Regions from separate parts of the Homo sapiens genome. Here all the other regions are linked to region 3. The links are contacts of gene promoters, found by promoter capture Hi-C in blood cells and fetal thymus (Javierre and others, 2016). All regions are on one chromosome and are shown on one strand. The core of a region is centred on a gene start or on the middle of the fragment in contact, and the rest is flanking DNA. Distances in the headings are between cores, read along the strand shown.

What was found. The method cuts DNA at HindIII sites, captures the fragments that hold promoters and counts their contacts. A CHiCAGO score of 5 or more calls a contact.
Region 1: a contact is called between the fragment with the promoter of IGIP here and the fragment with the promoter of HNRNPA0 in region 3, in 3 of 17 cell types (naive CD8 T cells, total CD8 T cells and fetal thymus). The highest score is 9.9, in naive CD8 T cells.
Region 2: the fragment with the promoter of APBB3 here is called in contact with the fragment with the promoter of HNRNPA0 in region 3 in 9 of 17 cell types (naive CD8 T cells, total CD4 T cells, fetal thymus and 6 more); the score reaches 21.9 in naive CD8 T cells.
Region 4: the fragment with the promoter of MALINC1 here is called in contact with the fragment with the promoter of HNRNPA0 in region 3 in 10 of 17 cell types (total CD4 T cells, naive CD8 T cells, activated CD4 T cells and 7 more); the score reaches 20.9 in total CD4 T cells.
Region 5: the fragment with the promoter of PFDN1 here is called in contact with the fragment with the promoter of HNRNPA0 in region 3 in 6 of 17 cell types (fetal thymus, total B cells, naive B cells and 3 more); the score reaches 22.9 in fetal thymus.
Region 6: the fragment with the promoter of CYSTM1 here is called in contact with the fragment with the promoter of HNRNPA0 in region 3 in 9 of 17 cell types (total CD4 T cells, naive CD8 T cells, activated CD4 T cells and 6 more); the score reaches 15.0 in total CD4 T cells.
Region 7: a contact is called between the fragment with the promoter of CATSPER3 here and the fragment with the promoter of HNRNPA0 in region 3, in 1 of 17 cell types (naive CD4 T cells). The highest score is 5.6, in naive CD4 T cells.

What each region holds. Positions count from the first base shown.
Region 1 is chr5:140,124,044-140,127,424 of GRCh38, reverse strand. IGIP (IgA inducing protein) reads right to left here and starts at 1,488. Exons shown (of 1, transcript NM_001007189.2): 1 at 1-1,488. PURA (purine rich element binding protein A) reads right to left here. Exons shown (of 1, transcript NM_005859.5): 1 at 1,806-3,381. The HindIII fragment of the contact is 9,298 bases long and covers 1-3,381 here.
Region 2 is chr5:140,562,459-140,565,916 of GRCh38, reverse strand. APBB3 (amyloid beta precursor protein binding family B member 3) reads left to right here and starts at 1,319. Exons shown (of 13, transcript NM_133173.3): 1 at 1,319-1,720; 2 at 2,002-2,165; 3 at 2,247-2,323; 4 at 3,194-3,254; 5 at 3,418-3,458. The coding sequence starts at 1,672. It overlaps SLC35A4 (solute carrier family 35 member A4), which reads right to left and starts at 1,089. Exons shown (of 3, transcript NM_080670.4): 1 at 1,059-1,089; 2 at 1-44. It overlaps LOC131768270 (SLC35A4 upstream open reading frame protein), which reads right to left and starts at 1,089. Exons shown (of 3, transcript NM_001394034.2): 1 at 1,059-1,089; 2 at 1-44. The coding sequence starts at 1,073. MIR6831 (microRNA 6831) reads left to right here and starts at 2,166; the gene lies at 2,166-2,246. RefSeq lists enhancers at 1,012-1,131, 887-1,493, 2,102-2,161 and a silencer at 1,452-1,631. The HindIII fragment of the contact is 4,216 bases long and covers 168-3,458 here.
Region 3 is chr5:137,752,631-137,756,412 of GRCh38, reverse strand. It overlaps HNRNPA0 (heterogeneous nuclear ribonucleoprotein A0), which reads left to right and starts at 2,050. Exons shown (of 1, transcript NM_006805.4): 1 at 2,050-3,782. The coding sequence starts at 2,347. The coding sequence ends at 3,264. RefSeq lists a silencer at 1,331-1,690 and enhancers at 1,318-2,009, 2,271-2,620, 3,131-3,290, 2,700-3,391. The HindIII fragment of the contact is 5,253 bases long and covers 1-3,782 here.
Region 4 is chr5:140,106,513-140,109,857 of GRCh38, reverse strand. It overlaps MALINC1 (mitosis associated long intergenic non-coding RNA 1), which reads left to right and starts at 1,846. Exons shown (of 4, transcript NR_102741.1): 1 at 1,846-2,449. LOC124900193 reads left to right here and starts at 589. Exons shown (of 4, transcript XM_047417990.1): 1 at 589-2,074. The coding sequence starts at 873. The coding sequence ends at 1,799. RefSeq lists enhancers at 1,035-1,536, 2,647-2,746 and silencers at 1,687-1,946, 1,957-2,016, 2,047-2,116. The HindIII fragment of the contact is 3,432 bases long and covers 673-3,345 here.
Region 5 is chr5:140,301,192-140,304,471 of GRCh38, reverse strand. PFDN1 (prefoldin subunit 1) reads left to right here and starts at 1,371. Exons shown (of 4, transcript NM_002622.5): 1 at 1,371-1,431. The coding sequence starts at 1,399. RefSeq lists a silencer at 1,262-1,466 and an enhancer at 1,355-1,634. The HindIII fragment of the contact is 1,473 bases long and covers 971-2,443 here.
Region 6 is chr5:140,173,333-140,176,755 of GRCh38, reverse strand. CYSTM1 (cysteine rich transmembrane module containing 1) reads right to left here and starts at 1,568. Exons shown (of 3, transcript NM_032412.4): 1 at 1,471-1,568. RefSeq lists a silencer at 1,181-1,470 and an enhancer at 1,761-1,990. The HindIII fragment of the contact is 7,638 bases long and covers 1-3,423 here.
Region 7 is chr5:134,966,101-134,969,527 of GRCh38, reverse strand. It overlaps CATSPER3 (cation channel sperm associated 3), which reads right to left and starts at 1,621. Exons shown (of 8, transcript NM_178019.3): 1 at 1,439-1,621. The coding sequence starts at 1,536. The HindIII fragment of the contact is 4,293 bases long and covers 381-3,427 here.

The DNA.
Region 1 (3,381 bases), core at 239-2,738, 2.4 Mb before region 3:
CAACAGATTTTCTCAACATGCTATAAGGAAAGAGGAAAAATTGGTTTCAGCTCACACCTCATGGCTGGAAGCCTCTGGAAGCCTCCAGCCAGTGCACACTCCCCAACTTATGCTAAAAGAGGGCCAATTTCATCCCCACAGCATCACAAGAGTCCACCCTCCAACCACACAGTGCTCTGACACCAAGCTCACCCATTCCTCAACTCTTGTGCCTTAGGATAACACATGAACTTAGCCCACATAATACACACCAGCGTCTTAGAGACTTGAGACCAGGGCAAAGAAACAGACTAGTGTAGTTTGCACTGAGATCAGTAAGAAAAATGGGAAGTGATGCACATTTCCAATTAGAATGACAAGAAGAAGACCCACATCCCTAAACTGGAATTTGGCCAGGGCATCAGAGTTAGCACCCCCTCTCTGAGTACCGCTAGCGATTAGGATGTGTGCTCTGGGCCTCCTCTAAAAGAGAGCATCTACAGTAAGTAACACAGTATGGGACATTAGTTCAGTGACGACTGCCAAGAAAGCAGATACAATTCTTGAATCTGGGGCTGTCTACGGCACCTGAGGTCAATCATCCAAGCTGTGACCTGTCCCAACCCTGCTTACTTTAAGATATCTGATGGGCACAGAGCACTCAGGGATATGGCTGCTGGCTACTTTGGACTCTAGATCTCACAGGTAATCAACAGGTATCTGGGATTGAATTAGCAAACTGTACCATAGCTCCTTAAACAGACATTGTCAAGTCTGAAATCATGTCAAGCATGAATCTTCACTGTCAGGTCAGTAATCAAAGTGGGAGTCTTCCCACATCAGCCAAGGTTATTTTGTCAGAACCTTAGAGGAGTTGGACAGTTTTTCATGTTGCAAGTGATTGGTTTACTTATTTCAGTCAAGCTGGATTGGCAAACCAGACTGATTTATTTAGTGAGCTTTGTTTTTTTGATTCTTATGTGTGTGCTAACCCAAAGCTGTTGTATTTGGGCTAAATACACTGACAGAGAAAATTCAAACGACAAAAGTTTTCAGCAAACTTCTGTGGCATTTTTTCTTTTTGGAAGTAAATGCAAGATCTAAAGGTATTTCTACCCAACAACGTCTGTTTAAGTGTTTAATGTTATTTCCTTTTTGGTCCTATACAGAATGCTATGACTTCTATATAGGTCTGAATGCTGCTCCATGTAGATTCCTTCTGTATATCTAAAAATATATACTTTTCAGTAGTTCAATACATGGTTAATCTTCCCACAGAGGAAGATTTTTGTAATCACATGTTGCAAAGTAGAAAACATCTCCTTTCTAAGAAAGGAAATATACTTTCCTATTGTACACTTTTGAATAAGCCCAAAGGCATGCACCAAAAATCATTAATAAAACTAATACATGCAATAAAATGGTGTAGAGTTAGACTTAAAGTGCTGCTTCTCAATTTTTTTTAATTTGAAGAAGACATTTTGTCAGTTGTAGACTCAAAAATCTTTCCCCCACCCACCCTCCCCACCCCATGGCATTAAGAGAGAAAAGTAAAAAGTATGCATAAATCTTTTAACTATGCTTTACATGGGGGAAAGAACAGATGTATCAACTATCCTATATATCAACTGGATTCCCAGTTTTAAATAAAACCAATATTTACTGGTAAAAATTGTCAAAGCGAATACACGCAAACAAATGTTACTAGTAAATAAATGTTCTACATAGAGAATAATTTACTTTGGTTTTATGCGCCTTCTCAAAAATAACACTAGTGTCCCAACGTCACCAAACTGATGTGTTCCAGCAAAGTTGTAAGGCAAATCTTTTTTTCCCTAGTGACATCTTGTTTCCCAACAGACAAAACTAAAATCTTTTGGTGAGGAAGGGGTTAAGATAATGGCTAACCCCTTGGCATCCTGAGCATTGTGGTTTATCAAACTCTACCCTGCTAGAAATTGTCAGGCACCCTGACCCCTGCCTTGAACCAGGAAGGCTCCCATGTCTAGAGATGCCCTGACTCCTTATAAATAGCTTTCAGAACTTTGCTTTTTTCCCTTCTCTCTGGTTGTTATAATGTCTAACGAAGCTGGTTGCAATGTCACATTTTGCTAGTAGGGGCCACCATCTAACAATAATTCCAATATGAAAGGTTTTAAGCCAATAGTTGGTTCCTAATTTTATCAACGATTTGCACTAAAATTCTCTACAATTTACTTAGAGCAGAGATCTTTAACTTGGGTTTCAGAAGATGTGTGATGCCCCTGAAGTTGTATGCAAAATTATCCAGGGATGGGCATTTTTTTTTTCTTGGGTAGAGGATCCATCACACTGTCATCAGATTATCAAAGATATCTGTGACCCCCAAAAAGGGTTATAGGGACTTAGAGGGATACCCGTAATTCATTTTATACCAGGACTGGGAAATGGGGGCAGAAAACTAAAAATGGCCTCGAAAAAGGCCAGGGACAAATTGCTGATCTTTTCCCTTTATTCACATTGGGAAAATAAGTGCTTCAAACTGGAAAAATCATTAATTAAGCTGGTTAAACTCCATTAAAAAATAATCAAATCGCTTTCTAAATTTTTTTCATTTTCGATATGTGGTAAATTTTGTCTCCAAGAAAAGGTTTGGAGACTGAATTTTTCTCTTTTCCTAAAGGAAATTCATAGATAGAATGCTGAATATCATCCACATTTAAAGATTTGACAACATAAAAGTTAGATAACTCTTAATGATGTGAATCTTTAACTTATGATTTTGAGTAAAGGATTATCTAGAATCAAATATACACTTATTAATCTTCATTTCCCAAAATTGGTCCATATTTAGACAACTACCTGGCACAATTTCACTAGATAAACCTAAAATCTGAACAATGGAAGTTAAACTTCTACCCAAAGTAAAAACAAAGCCATAAGATTCCACAATTGAATTGGCCACAAACATTCACACTATGTTATAAAGGACTTTCTCATTTCAAATACATCACTGAATGTTCAACAGAATTTGCAAACATAAGATCCAGAATGACTAGCAAAACATGCTAAGAGCATGTCAAAAAGTAAAACACCACCTCTCCCCCCCCAATCTGGAAACACACTCAGGCATTCCAAAAATAAACCAGATCTGAAAAGAGGCCTCTCACTTGGTTTTAAGTATGAGGTGTGTACAAAGCTATGGGAAAGGGAATATAAAATGAAATAACCAAATAACTTACAAAAAATAATTTTAGCCAAAAACACATCTCTCTGTTCCATTGATAAAACTATCAATTTTTAAATTTTTTTGCAATTCTGAACACTGTGTTGCATAATATCACCAAGACAAAAAATATGTTCACAGGTACACTTTTTGTTATTTTCTTTCTAGAGCACATCTTTGAGGTCATAAGACCGCAT
Region 2 (3,458 bases), core at 70-2,569, 2.8 Mb before region 3:
TGGTTCTTGAGAAATGCCAGGTCCTTAAGCTTAGGCAGAGAATCCTAGGACAAGCGAGAGGCTGGCTCCAGCAGTCTGACTAAGCCCCACCCCTTGCTCAATTCCATCAGAAGCTGGGAATTGGGAGGGGATGGGGTGAGCCAGAAAGACCTTTTCCTATAAAAGCTTCCTGAGATGGCAGTGGCAAAGAAAGACAAGCATTGAAAAGCACAGAATTCAAATGAGGGCCAGGAAGGGACTGACAGATGGGATCTGAACCAGTAACTTACATCAACCTTGACAAGAATTTTATATAGCAAGCAGTATGTAGGAAAGGCAGGAGGGACAGCTAGGGACCTTTAATTAGGTCCATCAGGAAACCACTACTGACTCCATTATGAGCTCCTTGAAAGTCGTGACCAGTCTGTCTTGGCTACTATGTTCTAGTGCCTGACATTTAGTAAATGTGTGGGTAATGCTGAGCTTCTAGACCAATGGTGAGTAATGGACCGAGGCAGTTTCCTGGACAATTTTATTGTCTTGGTTCCTGGATGGGCTTTACCTCTTTCTTCCCAAGGACATCCCAAACTGAATGTGAGTGACTGGATGTGACTGAGAATGACAAAAAAGACTGTCGGCAAGTGTGTAAGTAAATGGACTGAGTGATTTTGATCGCATATAAGTATGAAATTCAGAATGTATGCAAAGGAGTGTTTGAATGAGGGTGGTGTGAGTGTCCGTGTGATTGGAAACATCGTGTCACTGGGAAGAAAATTTCGGGAGCTAGGGAATGGGGTAAAGTGAGGAGTGTTTAAGGGTGAATGTTTTTGAGTCTGTGCTAGTAACGGGTTCGTGATGGTTCCCAGGAGGGGACATCTGGGGGATCCACGGCTCCTCCCGCCTCGCCGAATGCTCTCCCCACACCACTCCACACTGTTGAGGCAGTTGACAGGAGCCGCAGAAGAAACAAGGGACATCCTCACTCCTGAGCCGCTCCAGAGTCGCTTCTCCCCGGAACTAAAAAGGTCAAGGAGAGTGAAGACCACGCCCGGCTGCAGATCACCCCCACGGCCACTCACCTTGTCATCCGCCATCTTCCCCGCCGAACTTGTTGCGCAGGCGCATCCCCGCCTCCCTCGTGCCGACTGCCCCGGCCATCTTTACGGAGGGCGAAGGCACTTCCGGAGCATTTTTGGAAAGGGGGAGGTGCTTTCCTAGTGGCCAAGTACGCCTCTCTCAGATACTTCCACGTGACCCCCTCCCGTCGAGTCTCAGGCTGCGTGTGAGCGCACTCACGACCGGGGCGCGATGATCTCACTCGTGCGCGAGTGCGCGCGGCGCATGTTCGGCGTGTCGGTCTTCAGGCGCCTGATGAGTTCATAGTTGGGCGGTGGTGTCAGCGGTTTCGCTGGCGTTCGTGGGCCTCCCCCGGACCCACACACGGAAACACGCAACCATTCGGGGATCCAGACGCCCGTTTACACGCACCACCCCTGGGCGGGCTGTGCGGCTCAGGCCCTCCCCCGGGACCGGCCCGTGTCCCGCCCCGTGTCCCGCCCCGTATTTGTGCGGCGCCAGCTGGCCCCGCAGCCTGCGGCGCAGAGAGGCTGGGCTTGCAGGCGCAGTAGCTCCAGAGGTCGCGCTGGGCTGAGAGTGCGGGCCGGCAGAGGCTGGCGGGGAGCAGCCGGGGTTATGCTGGGCAAGGATTACATGCTGGCCATCATTCTGGTCAACTGCGATGGTGTGCACGGAGGGGCCCGGTGGGAAGACCAGGAGCTGAGGGAGGACGAGGGAATCCGAAAGGCTACTCTGGGGCTCAAAGACGGTGGGGGATACCTCTCTGTGTAGGGACCAGGGGGCGAATGAACCCGGTCTTTACATGTGATGTCTTCAAGATTGAGGAGCCTGGATCTTCAGCCTAAGAACTGACCCATTTTGGGGATGGAGAGGGGATTATGACAGCATGTTATTCTGAACTCACAAATCATATGCTCCCTCCTCTCTAATCCGGTGTTCCTGTAGATGACTTGTGGGGGGACCACAGTCTGGAGGTGGAGGCTGGCCTGCCTCCTGGCTGGAGGAAGATCCACGATGCTGCAGGTACTTACTACTGGCATGTACCCAGCGGTAGCACCCAGTGGCAGCGCCCAACCTGGGAACTAGGAGATGCAGAGGACCCAGGCACGGTAGGTAGAGTGTGAGGAGGAGGTCTGAGCCCATGTGTGGACCTAGGTCTGCTGTTAAACTGACTAACTCCCACTCTACAGGGAACGGAGGGGATCTGGGGACTGCGGCCCCCCAAAGGGAGATCCTTCTCCAGCCTGGAGAGTTCACTGGACCGGAGGTAACGGGTGGCCCAGGCAAAATGAAAGGCTTGGGGTTCCATGGTGTTCAAAAATGCAGCTGGACCCATGGTCTGCTTTCCAGCCCAGGTTCTGGATTCTGTCACATGTTTTGGGTTCTGTTACGTTCTTGGCTCTGTCCCAGGTTCTTAACTGTCAGTATTTTGAGTTTTATCCCTTGTTCTAAGCTCTTGTTTGTAGCTACATGTTTTTCATATTCTTGGTCCTAACCTATCATGTTCTAGACCTTGGCCATTAAGTCCTCTGTTCTAGGGTCTCTTGTCCCACTTTGGGGTTCTGGTCCACATATTGGACCCTGTTCTATTTTGTGACTTTTATTTTTTATTTTTTGAGATGGAGTCTCACTCTGTCATCCAGGCTGGAGTGCAGTGGCACGATCTTGGCTCACTGCAACCTCCGCCTCCCAGGTTCAAGTCATTCTCCTGCCTCAGCCTCCTGAGTAGCTGAAACTACAGGCACATGCCACCATGCCCAGCTAATGTTTGTATTTTTAGTAGATATGGGGTTTCACCATGTTGGCCAGGATGGTCTCGATATCCTGACCTCATGATCCACCCGTCTCAGCCTCCCAAAGTGTTGGGATTACAGGCGTGAGCCACCACTGCACCTAGCCTTGTGACTTTTATTCTATGTCCTGTGTCTGGGTCCTATGTCCTGAATTTTCCCTCAAATTCTGAGTCACACTTTATGTTACGTTAATATGTCCTGGGCTCTACCCTGCTCTGGTTTTATATTTCTGGTGCTATATTCTGGGTCTTGCCCCTCATCCTGTGCTTATCAAGTTGTCTAGGCCTCACCAGTGTCCCTACTGTAGGAAATGTGGTCCTCTTAACAGCTCTGCTCTGTTTCAGTAACTCTCTGTCCTGGTATGGTGGGGAATCCTACATCCAGAGCATGGAGCCAGGGGCTAAGGTAGTGACTTGGGCCTGAGGGCATTGGGAGGTCCCAAGGGAAAGACAAGGGTGGGATTGGACTGAACAGAGGTGATCAAGGGTGAAGACAGGGAGTATGTATTGTGGCACCTGCCACCCTACTCCATCCTTATTAATTCCTGTCCCTTCCCCCAACCTGTCAGTGCTTTGCAGTCCGCTCTCTGGGCTGGGTAGAGGTACCTGA
Region 3 (3,782 bases), core at 801-3,300:
TACTCAATGTGTAGCTCCCACTTATAAGTGAGAACTTGTGGTATTTGGTTTTCTGTTCCAGCCTTAATTTGCTTAGGATACTAACTAGTCTTTGGCTCTGAGGTTCAGTGCAACTTCCAATTCTTTCCTAAATCTTTCCTGAATACTTGAGGATACAGTGAGGAATTCCTCTTAACTTCTTCAGCGTTTACCATATGGTTTTGGAGGCTTTTGGTCACGTAATGCCTCATATTAACTATGTCCCACCCCATTTATCTTGCTTGGCACACAAAGGCTCAATAAATGGAAGCCATTGTAATTTTCTTCCATTCCCATCTGAGTGAGGGCACTAAAAGCAGTAACTTAGGGGTATATGATCTCTCTCTCTGTAAAACATTCGTCTAACCCAACATCTTTAAAAAGCTAACATTCTACTTTTGGGAGGCCGAGGCGGGCAGATCACTAGGTCACGAGTTTGAGACCATCCTGACCAACATGGTGAAATCCCGTCTCCACTAAAAATACAAACATTAGCCAGGTGTGGTGGTGCCCGCCTGTAGTCCCAGCTACTTGGGAGGCTGAGGCAGGAGAATCGCTTGAACCCGGGAGGTGGAGGTTGCAGTGAACCAAGATCGTGCCATTGCATTCCAGCTTAGGCAAGACTCCGTCTCAAAAAAAAAAAAAAAAAAGCAAAGTTAACATTCTAGGCCAGGCGCGGTGGCTCACGCCTGTAACCCAGCACTTTGGGAGGCCGAGGCAGATGGATCACCTAAGGTCAGGAGTTTGAGACCAGTCTGACCAACATGGTGAAACCCCATCTCTGCTAAAATACAAAAATTAGCCGGGTGTGGTGGTGGGCGCCTGTAATCTCAGCTACTCAGGAGGCTGAGGCAGGAGAACAGCTTGAACCCAGGAGGCGGAGGTTGCTGAGCCGAGATTGCGCCAGTGCACTACAGCCTGGGCAACAAGAGTGAAACTCCATCTCAACAACAACAAAAAAGCTAACATTCTAGTTCAAAGAAAGCAACACATAGATGATGTAAATTACACATAAAAAACCATTCACTGAGGTTAAATGAAAATGTCTGCTGGAGTGTGCCAAGGGGACCTGAAAGGGCCTCCTCTGAGAGGGCATCGTGGGAGGGCTTCAAGGAGGGCGGGAGGGTGGCAGGGAGGCAGGGATGTCGCGCCTCGTCTGGTTCCTAATGTCTGAAGTTCTTTTGGTTCCCTGTTGTCTTTCACACCGCCGCCTCGGGCTCGCTTTTGCGCAGGGCCACGTGGCAAAGTTTTAGTTTAACCGCACGTCGGGCCCACTGTAAACGGTTAATAACCGCCTTCGTGGACCAGGCCTCTGCCCTCCATCTTTGTGCGGGCGGGAGGTGGGGCGGGGACGCCAGGTGTAGCGGACAAGCGGAGAGGCGGCGGGTAGATCCGGGCCCCCAACCCCAACAGTCAAGTTTTCAAAAAGCCCGCGCGTGGCGCCCCAGACCGCATCCGTTGGGAATGGCCCCCAGCGCGCCCCCTGCTCTCTCCCCGGCAAAGCCCTGGGCGGGAGAAGGCGCGGGGGTGGTAGGCCGGCTCTGCACGCCGGGGGCGCCGGGGCAAGCGCGCACCGGGGAGCGCGCCCGTCCAACAGCTGCCGAAAACGGAAGTGGGTGCGAGGGGATCACGGTGATTGGCTGAACTCAGATGTCTCTCAAGGGGCTGGCGCGAACGCCACTGCGGAGTTGGGCGAGGGGATGAGTAAAGGGGAGGGGGAGAAACACTGGGAACAGCCGCGGTGCTAGGAGGAAATGAATCGCGGTGGTGCGCGGAGGGCAGGGAGGGACCCATGTCAAGGGACAGTGGGGCGCTCGGGAATGAAAGTGGGCTGGCAGAAGCGGAAGCGGGAGCGGCACAGGCCGCGGGCTTGAATAGACCGCGGAGGGCGGGGAGTCCGTGATCTAGAGCGGCGCTGCGGCGCGGTAGGCGGGATTAAGGGGAGCGAGGCGGGGATTGGCTGGTAGCCCTAGGCTGCCGTACGTCGGCGGTGACGCACGCCTCGGGGAGGGTGCGCGCGCGTTCAGCGGCCTCTTTGTGTGGTGCCCAGATAGGGGAGCGGAGGTGGCGGCGGCGGCGGTAGCGGTGGCCTTGGTTGTCTTCCAGTCTCCTCGGCTCGCCCTTTAGCCGGCACCGCTCCCCTTCCCTCCCCCTTCCTCTCTTCCTTCCTTCCCTCCCCTTCCCTTTTTCCCTTCCCCGTCGGTGAGCGGCGGGGGTGGCTCCAGCAACGGCTGGGCCCAAGCTGTGTAGAGGCCTTAACCAACGATAACGGCGGCGACGGCGAAACCTCGGAGCTCGCAGGGCGGGGGCAAGGCCCGGGCCTTGGAGATGGAGAATTCTCAGTTGTGTAAGCTGTTCATCGGCGGCCTCAATGTGCAGACGAGTGAGTCGGGCCTGCGCGGCCACTTTGAGGCCTTTGGGACTCTGACGGACTGCGTGGTGGTGGTGAATCCCCAGACCAAGCGCTCCCGTTGCTTTGGCTTCGTGACCTACTCCAATGTGGAGGAGGCGGACGCCGCCATGGCCGCCTCGCCCCATGCCGTGGACGGCAACACTGTGGAGCTGAAGCGGGCGGTGTCCCGGGAGGATTCGGCGCGGCCCGGTGCCCACGCCAAGGTTAAGAAGCTCTTTGTCGGAGGCCTTAAAGGAGACGTGGCTGAGGGCGACCTGATCGAGCACTTCTCGCAGTTTGGCACCGTGGAAAAGGCCGAGATTATTGCCGACAAGCAGTCCGGCAAGAAGCGTGGATTCGGCTTCGTGTATTTCCAGAATCACGACGCGGCAGACAAGGCCGCGGTGGTCAAGTTCCATCCGATTCAGGGCCATCGCGTGGAGGTGAAGAAAGCAGTCCCCAAGGAGGATATCTACTCCGGTGGGGGTGGAGGCGGCTCCCGATCCTCCCGGGGCGGCCGAGGCGGCCGGGGGCGCGGCGGTGGTCGAGACCAGAACGGCCTTTCCAAGGGCGGCGGCGGCGGTTACAACAGCTACGGTGGTTACGGCGGCGGCGGAGGCGGCGGCTACAATGCCTACGGAGGCGGCGGCGGCGGTTCGTCCTACGGTGGGAGCGACTACGGTAACGGCTTCGGCGGCTTCGGCAGCTACAGCCAGCATCAGTCCTCCTATGGGCCCATGAAGAGCGGCGGCGGCGGCGGCGGTGGAGGCAGTAGCTGGGGCGGTCGCAGTAATAGTGGACCTTACAGAGGCGGCTATGGCGGTGGGGGTGGCTATGGAGGCAGCTCCTTCTAAAAGAAAATTTAAAATGCCTGGGAGTGGCTATAGGGGTAGCTCTTTCCAACAGCCCAAGTGGGGTCAACTCCTAAGCCCCACCCCCTCACACACACCGCCTTCCCTGTTTTGCCCTTGGGGGAGCCACTTCTAAGGCTGCTTACCCTTGGGGGTGTTCCTCTATTTGCCTGCCACCTCTCTTGTCTCTCCCTCTGAAGATGGACTCGGCCCCACATACACATTTTTGTGTTACAGTCATTGATGGACTCTATTTTTTTATTATTACTTGGACCTTGGTCGTTTTTATACTAGCAAAATGTCTTGTTTTAATTTGTGTTTTTTGGGGGGAGGGAGGGAGTGAACTTGCTGATTCTGTAGCAAAACCTGGGTGGGGGTTGGGGTGGGGGGTAGTTTACTTTGTTGTAAGGACTTGATAACCTGGCTACAGCGTTTTCTATGAAATCTACTTGGATCCCATGCCTGAAATTTGGAAGCATATGTACAAAAATCATTTTTACGTTTTATTTTTAATAAATCAT
Region 4 (3,345 bases), core at 597-3,096, 2.4 Mb before region 3:
ATGTTCAAAGTGGAGGAATTAGCCATTTCTTCTCATGACTGTCTACCAAAAAAATTGAGAAACTCTCAAATAAATCTTAACATTTAACAACAACAATGACTAATAGTAACAGCATTTCCCAGATCGTTCTTTAAAAGCGTATTCCTTTTCCATAGCTCACTTAATCTTGAAAATCATGCCTCTTCAATGCTATTTTAATGTTTCGGATTAAAGATATGAAGTAAACATTTAATATATGAAGAGAACAATCCACTTGATAAAAATCCTCGCATTTCCAAAATGTTTTCATTTTAAGCATTTGCAGAAGTTAAATAAATGTAGCAGACATTCTAAATTCGATAAAAAATTCAGAGAACCCGACATTTTATGTACCCCAAAGGTCCAAACAGAACCGATGTAAATGTCAATAGCTGTCTCCCTTCCGGCTGATACTTAAATGGTTTTACTAGTACTCAAAGCAATGAAATCAGCAACTCTCTCTCCACACTCTAGTCAACACTCCAATTTCCAAAGCCGCAATTCGCAAACGTCAGTTGGGCGGGGGCGGTGGGGGATCTTGAAGTAATCCAAAAATTTCCTTTCCCCTTTGACAGTCCACCAAAAGATGTCAAACCAAATCCAGCCTATTGTAAAGCTCTGGGACCTCCCTTCCAAGGACACCGAACACAAGCTTAGACACCGCTGCGAAAAGCTGTCCAAAAGCGCCTGGCCGGACAGAAATGTAAGGAGCCCAGGCCAAAACGAATTAGAACCCCCAACAGAGGGTCCCGCAGACACCGCGGAAAAGAAGGTGGCATTTATTCCGGGGTAGACAGCTACGAACCAGTTACCCCAGCCAGTCTCTGGGGGCTCTCCAACCCAAGTTCAGGTTTATGGCAGATATATTGGTTGGGTGCCTTCCCCTACAAACATCACAGCCCGCCTCCGGGGCCCACCGCCGCTCACAGAGAAGACCCCTCAGCTTCACATCCGTTCCTTTTGCCCTCGGACAAAGGCAGAGGAGCTGTGGAGCTGACCCAGCGCTGTGGGGCAGTAAAAATGCCTTGTTCGGGCCACCCATCTTTGGGCCCGGCTTCATCTGCGATGTCAGCACCAAAGGTTTTTTTTTTTTTTTTCCTGGTTTTGTTTTGTTTTTACAACGCATCCTGGGCGGGTGTATGCATTTGGTGGTAGTGGGGTGGGGGGAACCGAACAGAGGAGGGGTTGGCAGTGAAGCCTGGGTTATAGAACTCTCCTTCCTCTCCCTCCTTCCAGGGTTGCCGTGCAGGGAGTGTCAGCCACGTCTAGCGCACAGTCCCAGGCCCCAGGGCGAAGGCGGCCAGGGGAAATGGGGCTCAGGGATTGCTAAGCAAACGCATCACTGGTGGTCTCCAGCGCCTGCGGAGGTAGGATCGCCTCTTTTCTTAAGGGGCGTGTTATTTTGTTCTCTTTTGAAAGTAGGAGGGGGTTCATTCGTTTCTCGCTGCGGGGGGTGGGAGAGAACGTTGCTGCACCGCCTGGGTCTCCAAGAGGGAGGGTGCGGGGATGTCTGCAATGGTACTATAATTATTCCTGGGCTGAGAGAGCAAGTAAAGGGGACGGGGCGAGCGTCACCTGGAGCTGTGGCAGTGGCAGCAGGGAAGGTCGCGAGGGGCTTACCCGGGCGGGCGGGCGCTGTCCTGCCGCAGGTGAGGGAGGGCGCAGGCTGGCGGGAGGGAGGGCGCGCGCGAGACAGGCGCGAGGAAGGGGGGAGGGGAGGAGGGCGCGCGCGCGCACACCTGTCCTGGACAGCGGCGCTAGCCGAGCTGCGCCTCACTTAGGCTCTGCGGGCTGAGGAGGAAGGAGGGCGGGCTGGCGGGCGGGGGCGGGACGCCGAGGGGAGGAGGAGGAGGCGGCTCGGATGGCTGGCTCGGCTCTCGCTCGCTCTCCCTCCCATGGGCAAGTCCGGCTCACACCCTGCTTCTCCCGCTCACTCACAGCCCCCTTGGCTCTCCCTCCTCCTCCTCCTTCCCCTGCGGGATCCGCTCGCCGCCGCCGCCGCCGCCGCAGACGGCAAGTCGTGGCAGCCAGACGTCGGCGCGTAACCCGGCGCTCCGTGCGTGACTCCAGGCGACGTCAGCGCGCGCTCCGCGTTCCCCACCCCTCCTCCCAACTCCGTGGCTCGCGCCCTTCGCTCTCGCGTCCCTCCGTTTTAGCTGCCGCCGCGGCGGCCGCCGAGCGCGCTCTTTCCGCCCCCTTCTCGCGCGTGAGCGCGCCCTATCGGCTCCTGGCGCGTCAACATTCCGCGGGCCAGGCCTTGGGGCGCGTCTGAGGAGGGGGATGTCTGTGGCCTCTCCGCCCACACTTCCTCCACCCACCGCCCACAGCGCCCCAGAAGGACCTATTACTCGTTTGGCTTCTGAAGGCCGAAGCCAGGCTCTGGCGGGGATAGAACCCTGAAGGGCCTGCGCCAGCTCCAACTTAGGGCCCTGTGCGTCGTTGCGACTTCTGCTACCACCCTATCACGCGGCACCCCCGCCCCAACTCCGCCCGGGTCTCTGAAGAGGCAATAGGCCTTTCATCTCCGGGGAAAGTCTCACCTTGGCCCTCAGACACCCGCCAAGAGGGGTCGGAAGGACAGAATTAGCATAGAGAAGAGTGGCTAGAGCACTTTTCAGGCTCTGGCCCCAGGAATCCTTGACAGGAAGCGTGGGGTTGCTGCCCAGCCTCCCACGCAGTGTAATATGTTGAAGCCGGGCCCCTTTGAGGGAATGCGACTTCCTTGGGCCGAGGGGGAAAGGGTAAAAGTTAATTTTCATAAAATGCTATGCAAGGGCTAAATGTGAAATTATAAAATGTCCTTTAAGACAGTCTTCTTGAAATCGTATCAAGTTTGACAAGATTTTTGGTGCACGGTAACGCTTTTGCTCGCTTTCTACGCTGTCACGTCTCCATCCTGCAACACTGAATACGTAGATGGAACGTGGATCAGCTAATAACTGCAGCAAAATAAAAACTGCATTTATCATCTTTATCATTATTTAAATAGACCTCCGAGAAGTCAAACTGTGATTTAGGAAAACTTAATCATTGCCTCAACCTATTTAACTATTTTGTTTTGAAGTTACTTTGCAAATATACCACAAAATCCCTCTTTGTTAGGCAGTGGTAGACTTTTAAACTCACTTGTTAGAGAATCTTTCCCAGAAGCATATCTAGTTGAGCCTGCGAGGCAAGTAGGACTAAGGTATAATTACTCCCATTTTACAGATGAAAATTTAGTTATCAAAATGTAAGTCAGTTGTTCAGCATTGTGAGGAGTCTATCACTGATAAAGGGAAAACTCTAAGGTCTATTATTGCCTGCTTTATTCACTAAACCAGAAAT
Region 5 (3,280 bases), core at 122-2,621, 2.5 Mb before region 3:
TGAGCCGAGATCGTGCCACTGCATTCCAGCCTGGGTGACAGAGCGAGACCCTGGCTCAAAAAAAAAAAAAAAAAAAAAATGTGGCCGGGTGCGGTGGCTCAAGCCTTTAATATCAAAGCACTACAGCACTTTGGGCGACCAAGGCGAGCGGATTGTTTGAGCTCAGGAGTTTGAGACCAGCTTGGGCAACAAGGTGAAAACCCGTCTGTACAAAAATATAAAAATTAGCTGAGTGTGGGTGGCGCGCGCCTGTAGTCCCAGCGCTACTCACGAGGCTGAGGTGGGAGGATCGCTTGAGCGCGGGAGGTAGAGGCTGGAGTGAGTCGTGATTGCACCATTGCACTCGAGCCTGGGTGACAGAGCAAGATCCTGTCTCAAGAAACAAACAAACGTACAAAAAAAAAAAAAAACCCCACAAAATATCCAAGTGACTTGCTTAAAGTCACACAATTAGTAAATGGAACCAGACATAGGCTAAAGGCAGACCAAGCCTTGAATCTAGATTAGGCTGGTTCCAAATTCCCTGCCCTTTCATCTCCCTAACAGTTTGTTTTCTTTCTCTCTTTCTTTCTTTTTTTAAAAAATAAAATAAATTTCCTAATTATTTATGTAGCACTTTCTCTTAGCATAACAGTTTTTAGAGTAGGTTAACTTTTTTTTCCATTTCCAAAAGTCAATTATTATCTATTCTGGTTCAAATGCCAGGTCCTTTTATGGCAGAGATTCTCAAAAAAGTGATCCGCGGAGGAGTTGCACCATTAGGTCACTGGGGTAGTCTGCAAAAGTGCAAATTTCCAGACCCCATTCTCAAAGATTCTGAGTACGTTTGAGATGAGACCCAGAGAACCTGCATTTTTTTGTTTTTAAACAAACGTATTCAGCCTCTCTTGAGAACCACTGTGCCTAGAATGTCTTTGGGAAGCTTTTGGAAGTAATAAGTTCGTTTTGGAAAGAACACTCCAGACAAGCTTTCCAATAGTCTTTCCCAAACTGTCATGCCTGAGGTTCTGGACTTACTCTTACTCATTCCTGAGAGCACAGCGACTAGCTGAAGGACTGATCGACTGATGAGGGTTTGACCTCATCTACATACATCTCAATTTAGCAGCACATATTAAGCTAGCTGGCAAACTGCTTAAAGCCACATGGGAAATCTGCGCGTTGGGCTATGTCTGGAAGATACGGAGGAGCAAGCCAGACCTGACCGGTCAGGTAGTGAAGACACGGAATCCGAAACCCAAATATTTCAGGAGTCAATTCTCAGAGAAAGATAAGAAGCCCGGTTAGTCCAACTCATGCGCAGGCGCAGAAGAAAGACCGGCGCACAAAGTAAGACGCGCCCTTCCCCACCCTATTTCAGTCCAACTCCCACTGCGCAGGCGCTTACAGTGCACCAAGATGGCCGCCCCCGTGGATCTAGAGCTGAAGAAGGTAAAAGAGGGTCTTTGGCAGGCGGAGGTCTTCTTTTTGGAGGCTGAGGGGACTATAGACAAGAATATCAAGTGAGGCACGAGCCTTGCAGAAGGAAGGAGGGTCCAGTGGACTAGGGAATGGTTTCCCAGAGTCCTAAGGCCTCACTGGGTCTCCATAAACGGGGTGGGGGGCGAGCGGCTCTTGCTGGGTAGGAGCCGGTTGGTCTGGGTCGGGTAAGTCTGCGGGCCTGTCTCGGGCTTGTCCAGTCTTTCTGAGCTCCAGAGACATTTCGTTGCGTTTGGAGGCTTCAGGGACTCACTTTCATAGTAAGAACTAAAGAGAGCATTTCAAATGGGGGTCCCTTCGGACCCCTTGCCTGAGCTGTGGCATCCGTAATTCTGCCTCATTTGCTTTGAAAAACTCCAAGTCCAACCTTTGTTTTTAGGCCATTTATTCGGTTCTGTACCTTGAAAGTTGCAATATCTACAGTTCGGAAAACCAAGCATTGTAGCAGCAATGTTCATTTCAGGATTTTGCCCCCCCTCCACTTCTTTTGAAGGACTCGTCAAACAAAACAAAACAAAACCTCCTTCTTTTGAAGGAATTGTCAAAAACAAAACAAAACCAGTAAAGTTTTCCAAATAAAACCGGTATCGGAAGGAATTGGGTTTCCTGTTTTCCTCAGTTGCTTATAAATGTGTTGTTATTCAGATTTTTGCTATCTAAGAATGATCAGCATTCTAACACCACTAATGACCCCAAACCAGTATGCTTTGTGCGGTGGGGTGGATTGGAAAGGACCCTAGAATTTATCTATTTTAAATCTACTTTTCTGGAAAAGGAACCAGTGCCAGAAAAGTCTGTCAGAAGTTGGGACTAGAATCCAGTATTCTCTGCCTTATCTCACACTTTTTTGACCACTATTTTGAGTTCTTCAGATGAGCAACATCTTAGTTAAGACTGCCTGTGGTCAACTTGTGTAAAAGAAATAGGACAGCCGAAATAGCTGTTGCTTCTAACAAATGAAGCTTTTGTTAGTGTTGTGAGGATATTATGTGTTTGTGTCTTGCTTTTGTTCTTCTTGTCTTGAATCTTGTAAATTTAGCTCTTAGGTGGAGTCTCTAATCTTTAACAGTATACTAGCTCATCTTTAATGGTATACTAGCTTCCTTAGCAAGCTGTATAGAGCAGTCAGATGATACCTGGAATTTTACATTTCAAAACAAAATTGTGCATTCTAAAAATTTACCTTTTCTTCTGTTAAAAGTACCGATTTAAATCAGGGTTTAGTGAATGGATTTGCCTCCCGGTACTTTTGAATTTATTGCTACATTTGAAACTTGCGGGCGGTGAATGCAAACTAAGAAAATGATTACAAACTTAAAATGAATAATTTTGATAACCAATTAATTAAAAAACTTGTTTAAAGGTTTTATCTTCTAATGTTTTTACAGGGTCCTTTTTTTGGGTGGAGACAAATAGGAAATTTCAGGCCCCTCCCCTTCCCCAAAGTAAATCTTTCAAAACCTTACTAGTAGGTGAAAACAAGGTCACAATAAAAATTATGTAGTAGCCTTTGCTGTGCATTGCAGTCACAGATGTTATTAAGGCACAAATTTAACAGCATGTGAAAGTCATTCCAGGCACTTCAACAAAAGTATCCAAGAACTGTTTATCTTCCAGTTAAGTAAGTGTACGCAAGGGTCAAATTTGGCCTGGTATCTGTGGATGAAGATCATGATGCAATTCTTTTGCCAGTGCTTTGCATTTTTTCTCACTCTCTTTCTTGGTCTTCCTCTTAAAAATGTTCATATTATGAATATTACTATAGACAGTGGAATGGAAAGATTGCTGAACTAAGGGGTTA
Region 6 (3,423 bases), core at 319-2,818, 2.4 Mb before region 3:
ATAGTATGGGACTCCTTTCAGCGAATCCAATGCCCCACATGAATGTTTGGATGCTGGTTCTCCTTTAATAACTTCCCCCTATTAAATCTCTTACCAGTCATTTGGGGTTTGGGTTTCACCCTAGGGATACAAGGTGTTTGTAAGTCACTCTGAAACCTCTGAAGGGCAAAGTGTTGTGGACGCTATAATCTCCCTGCATACTGAGGGGGGCATAGCTCCCAACCAGTCATTAAATCCCGTCAAATGAGATACTCGAAAATGAGCTGCCCTTGGGTGGGTCCTTTCATAAAAAGGAATTTTTAAAAATCTGCTAACATGGTTACTCCACAAAGTTTACATGTATCATATTGTATAAATCTATAAATATGTACAATTATTTTTTGTTTAATTTCTAAAAATTTGCCAACAATGGCTGAAAAAGGCACCTGGCTGCCTGAGCCCCTACCCTTGTCGGTTACAAGTATTTCATAAGCAGGGTTTGAGGAATCCCATCAGAGAAGAGTGTTGTCACCTTTTTGCCGGAATGTCACACCAACTTCCTCAGTGTTCCCCTCACACCAACTTCCTCAGTGTTCCCCCTACCCCAATCTAGCCAACGTTTCAATGGCTCCCCACAGCACACAGTGCCTCTCAGGTGGGCACTCAAGGGTCCTTTCCTAATCCTCCCTAACCTAATTCTCCAAACTTTTTTTCCCCCAAAACAGCCCAGCAGACGGTCCAGTCAGTCCCCAAATCGTTTTTCCTCATGGTCTCCTTCCCCAGGGGTCCTCCCCTCCTTCTCTCCCCCCTGCAACCTCCACTGCTACCGGGAGATTAGTTCCCACCCGTCAGGACCCCGCTCAGATTTCACTTCCTCCAACAGGTCCGCTCAGATCCCAATCCACGGCTCTCAACAGCAGCCGGGATTCCTTTCCCCCGCAACGCCTTCTCTGAACACCCCGGCCTCCGAGCGCCGGCTTTGCGTTCCCTAGTTACTTCCAGTCACTAGTTACTTCCGCTCCGCTCCCACCCGCGGGACTCGCGACCTGCCCCCTGCCCCCGGCTGGCCCAGCTCGGAATAGGCAGAGCAGCGCCTCAGAAATCGCAGCCCAAGGCGAAGAAATCCAGAAGCCTCCCGCGGACGTCCCCCGGGACGGGGTGTGGCGAGCCCCGCTCCGAGCCCGCCGACTCCTCGTGAGACGAGAACCGCAGCGACGCGGAGACCCTGTGAGTCCACCGCCGAGACGCGCGGCGCGGCGACCAGGAGCCCCAGAGTAGCCGCGGGGCGCCGGGAGGGATCCAGCTGGCGGCAGCAGCTTCCCTGCCTCCCTGCCCCTCCCCAGGGGCTGCGCGAACCCCTGCCTGAGCCAGGCCAGCCCGGGTGCCCCCCAGTTCTCAGGGCGCTCCCCAGGGAGCCCGGGGACGCGCCCTGTCCGTGCCTGATCCCCGCCCTGGTCCCAGCTGGGTCGGGCCAGGTCCGCTGCACCTCACCTCTCCTCTCCACGAACCGACTGGATAACGGTCGGGTCTGAACCTGAGGAGCCCGGACCAGCCCGCAGTAGACTTGCCGCACCTGTCTCAGAGCAAGTGAGGAGCAGCCGGGCGCCTGACGTCACGGCCGCTCCCAGCGCCGCGAACCGGGAGTCACCTGATCACCCTGGCAACGCGCGCGGCGCGGGGCGAGGCGAGGCTTGCGTCACAGCACGAGCCCCGCCCCCAACTGCTCGGCCTCCAAGCGCCGCCGGAAGCGCTCTCTTGCAGTCGGCGCAGTCGGGAGGCGGGGTCGGTCTCCGACTTCCCAACGTGGGCCTCCCAGCTGCGCTGGATACTTAGGACTCCCACAGGCGTCCCCCTCAGATTGGATTGGTTCTCCGAGACTCCACCCGATACCCCAACTCCGCTAGTTCAGGCGCCTGGGAGGCAAGACCAGCGTCCATGCGGAACCCTGCTCAGTGCGTGGCATGAGGGGTCGGCTGTGGGCTGCTGCCTCCTCGTGTCTTGTTGGTCCAGACCCAACTAGGGTTGGGGGCTTACTTCCCGAGCTGTACCTGAGCGGAATGGGGCTGAGGCTGATAACTGGATTGCTCTCTGGCTACTTTTCCCCATAAACCTTGCAACAAGTAGTCCCGCCAGTACTTTAGAGTGTAATGAGACTTCATTCACATCAGGAGGGGGAAGGGGGACAGAATCTTCTGTCCTGAAGGTTTCCTTCTTCTGTTCCAACAGGAAGAGAAGTTACCGAAAAGCTCCCAGAGCAAGGCCTAGAATGAGCTTGCAAGTCCTACTTGCAAAAAATTTTTTATTTTTCATTTTAGAAATTGATTTTCTCTCCATATTCCTCCCCTTGCTTGCTATTAGGTTGGTGCAAAAGTAATTGTGGTTTTTGCATTTTTTTTTTAAATGGCAAAAACAGCAATTACTTTTGCACCACTCTAATATAAGTATATGCCTACAACTTTTGTTACTCTCTAGGCTTCCCAGATAAGACTATCAGCTTCGAAATGAAAATTTAACATCCCCTGGAGGTCTCAGTGTGAGAGTCACTGCCTATTTCACACCTTCACTATTTGCTGACTTTCATTTCAGTTTTACTCTCCTCATCCCTGCACTGCCAAGAAGGTTTCATATGTATTGAAACCTTCCCTCTCAAGAGTTTAGGATCTTAGACCAAGAAGTTAGTTTATAGTCAACTTCTTGTGAGCATCTTTTAGTGTCAGGCAATGGGCCATGGGCAGATTGAGATGTGGTTCTCGAAGATCAAACGTGTATGGGTGGTATGTCTCACATAAGTACAACTTGTACTGTTTATTATGACTTAATCATTGTATTTAAGTGGCACTTTTTAATTTTCACACTTAAAGAAACTCATATAAGTGGGAAAGAAGACAGCTGTGAAAGGTAGAGAAGAACCATGGCTCTAGACAGAGCTGTACTAATAGGAGAGAAGAGATTGAAAATGTGAGCCCAGGTCCCAAGGAGCACAGAGGCATGGTCAGAAGGTTGGTAGGAACAGGACAGAGGCAGCCAGGCCTGAGGTGTTTGGCAGATCTGAGGAGGGCAGGGATAGAGGGTGAGGGGAGGAGTGGGGCCAGAATGAGGCTTGAGGGATTCAATGGAGGGCGAAAGTGCTGGGAAGGGAGGAGGGATTGGAAAGAAAGGAGAAGTATGCAGTGGTTTGGGAAGGAGTTGCTGAAAGGGAGGGCAGGGTAAATAGAGACCCAGGAAAGGGTGCTAAGAGCATTAAGAGAAGGGAGGCTGAGAGGCTACAAAAAAGGACTGAGGGGGAGGAAGAAGCAGGTGGGAGACTCTGGGGCAGCAAACATCTCAGAACCAGTCAGTAGGTGGTGTCCTTCAGAGGCTGTTGGAGAAGAGCAGCATTGTCTGTTTGCCTCTGAAGAGTGAAGGTGATCCATGCACACCCCAAACTACCTCTGGACCATCTGA
Region 7 (3,427 bases), core at 372-2,871, 2.8 Mb after region 3:
CCATACACATGCTCACATCAGTAATAAAAAACTGAATACCCCAAGAGAAAATGGGCACACAATCTATTCATGAAATAAACACCAAAGACAAACAAACTTCTCCAAATATGTTCTACAGCAATACCAATCAGGGAGATGCAAAGTAAAACCATTGTTTTTGTTTATAAAATTAGCAATGACTTAAATGTGATAAGATCTAATGCTGGCAACAGTGTAGTATGATTGAGCACTCTCAAAAACTGCCAGAGGCATAAAAACTGACCAGCTCTTTTGAAAAGCCTGAGAACCATTCATTCTCTGACCCAAGATAATATAACCTGAAATGAAATAACTTCAACTAAACATGTCTATCTCAGTATTTTTTCCAGCACTGAGAAGCTTGAAAACAACTTAAACATCTAACAAAAAGGACTGTGTAAGTAAATTATGGTATGTCCATCTTGTGAAATACAGGCACTAAAATATGTCTATGCATTTTTCAGGATTTAGAAAAATGTTTATGATCCATTTTTATATCTTTTGTTTTTGTGTGCAGCAAAACACAAAAACCAAAGATACAAAATTCTCTGTTCAAAATTATCTCACCTGTGCAAAAATCAGCAGTAGAAAAAATCAGCAGGAAATATGCCAAAATTTTAACAGTGTCTGTCTATGGATGGTGAGGTTATAGGTGATTCTTTTTCCTGTTTATTTCCATTTATCTGTGCTTTGCAATTTTTCTCAGAGTACGTATTACTGTTTCCCATTATATGTTACAAATGAAATGAACACATTCTCATAAGTTAAAAAAATATAGAATATATATTTTTCTTTTTCCTTTTCTTTTTTTTTTTTTCTGAGACAGAGTCTCGTTCTGTCACCCAGGCTGGAGTGCAGTGGTGCAATCTTGGCTCACTGCAACCTTCGCCCCCCAGGTTAAAGGGATTCTCCTGCCTCAGCATCCTGAGTAGCTGGGACAACAGGTGCACACCATCACTCCGGGCTAATCTGTGTATTTTTAGTAGAGATGGGGTTTCGCCACGTTGGCCAGGCTGGTCTCAAACTCCTGACCTCAAGTGATCCGCCCCAGCCTCTCAAAGTGCAGGGATTACAGGTGTGAGCCACCGTGCCCAGCCAGAATGTATATACTTTTCTAATATATCAAGATATGTAATTTTCATTATCTGATTTGAGATGGGGTCTATTATAAAAAAAGAGAAAAGCCTTCAGATTATCTAACAGTCAAACTGGTCAAACTGGTCATTCAAGTCTACAGGGCACATAAAGGTAATAGCATGCCAGCCTCACCAATCATAGAAACCAGATTGTCAAGGACATGCAACTTATTTTGGTAAGCAGACGAGTATCTGAGGGAAGAGGCTGAGAGAACACTGACACCCTGCCCTCACACTTCTACTAGCACATTTCTTAACAGGCAATGGAGATAGATAATATTTACTTAAATTTCTTGAATGTTGGGCAAAATCCCACCGATGTAGTGTCAACTGGTGAACTAGAAATGACTCTCGAGTGGCGCTGGTGACGGTGTTGAGACATTTTCCAAATTTTCAACTTTTATTCCTTGCTTTTAGCATCCAACAGAAAATCTCTGCTTAGGGATTTTCCTTAGCGTCTGGATTCTGAGAGGCAGCAGAGAAGGGGCCACGAAGGGAATCCTTGCTTTATGAGGTCACTCTTGGGCATTCTGTTGCATTACCAGTGTGTAGGCCCCTGAAGTGGGGAGCTCCCAAGTGGGTCTATCATGGATTCTCTCTTCCCAAGGAGACTGAGTGCCTCCATTCAGCAAAAAGGCTATGGGCACCCAGCAATCATGAGGCTCTGGGTTAAAGCTGGAAGTCACTAGAAACAGACCACACAAAGGCCCTCCCTTCAAGAAGTGCCCCCAGCTGATAGACACAGGCCCTTAATAATGTGTTAGAAAAAGTTAAGGGTCATATATAAGGGGGAAAAGCAAGTTCTCTGGGCTCTAAGAGAAAGAGAGCACATCCAGGGCACAGCACTGGAAAACACCTGGAAGGACAAGAAAAGATTGTGATGGGTTTGACTTAGAACAAAAGAAAACAAGAGAAGCAAAGAAGGTAATAGTGAGGTAGGGATAGTGGCTCACACTTATAATCCCAGCAACTTGGGAGGCTAAGGTGGGAGGATCACTTGAGGCCAGGAGTTTGAGATCAGCCTGAGCAACATAGTGAGACCCCCATCTCTAAAAAAAAAATAAGAAATAAAAATCAGCGACGAGGCATAGCGGCTCATGCCTGTAATCCCAGCACTTTGGGAGGCCAAGGCAGGCAGGTCGCTTGAGGTCAGGAGTTTAAGACTAGTCTGGCCAACATGGTGAAACCCCATCTCTTACTAAAAAAAAATACATAAATTAGCCGCGCATGGTGGCAGTTGCCTGTAATCTCAGCTACTCAGGAGGCTGAGGATGGAGAATCACTTGAACCCAGGAGGTGGAGACTGCAGTGAGCCAAGATCGTGCCATTGCACTCCAGCCTGGGCGACAAGAGCGAAACTCCATCTCCAAAAAAAAAAAAAAAGGAAATAAAAATTACCCATGGGAGGCTGAGGCAGCAAGATAACTTGAGCCCAGGAGTTCAGGACTAGCCTGAGCAAGATAGTGAGACTGTCTCTACAAAAAATAAAAATAAAAAAAATTAGGTGGGTGTGGTGGCATGCACCTGTAGTCCCAGCTACCAGAGAGGCCAAGGTAGGAGGATCACTTTAGTCCAGGCGTTGGAGGTTACAATGAGCTGTGATCACACCACTGCACTCCAGTCTGCATGATAGAATGAGACCCCATCTCTTAAAAAAAAAAAAAAAAAGAAAAAAAGAAAGGAGGCAATATAAACCCTGAGTTGGCTAACTGCAGGCATAGGATGGGATGTGCACATATAAACCACCTAAACAGAATATAAAGAGTGAGCACATGTGGCAGAGATGTTTTAAGTACAAAAGTAATAGGGATTTTTGCTCTGTTCAACTCTCAGGATTAATATATTCTCCCCACTCACCTTCTCCTAACTCCTTTGGCTTTCAGGGCAAATCAGGACAGTGGGATCTGGGTAGCCCTGTGTTGTATTAAATGCTCAGTGGCTAAATTGGTCAATCTCCTGGACACCAAAGTTCTTGGGCTGTAAGAAAAGGAAGTAACTACCCCACCATCTCTGCTGTCCCTGGTATTCTACAACAAGTATATATGACCATTCATGGTAGGAAAATACTTTGTGGGCAACCAATATACTGAACTGGGAAATAACATCTTACGTACTCATTTTCTCCATTTAAAATCATCAACAGCAAAGTTTTAAGAATCACTGTGATTAATGTCCCCACAATTCAAACTTTAGCCCCATCTTCTCCGTCTTCATTGTTTCCCTCAGGGATCAGCTCCTCCTATAACTCCTGCTATGTCCTTTAGTTATATGCC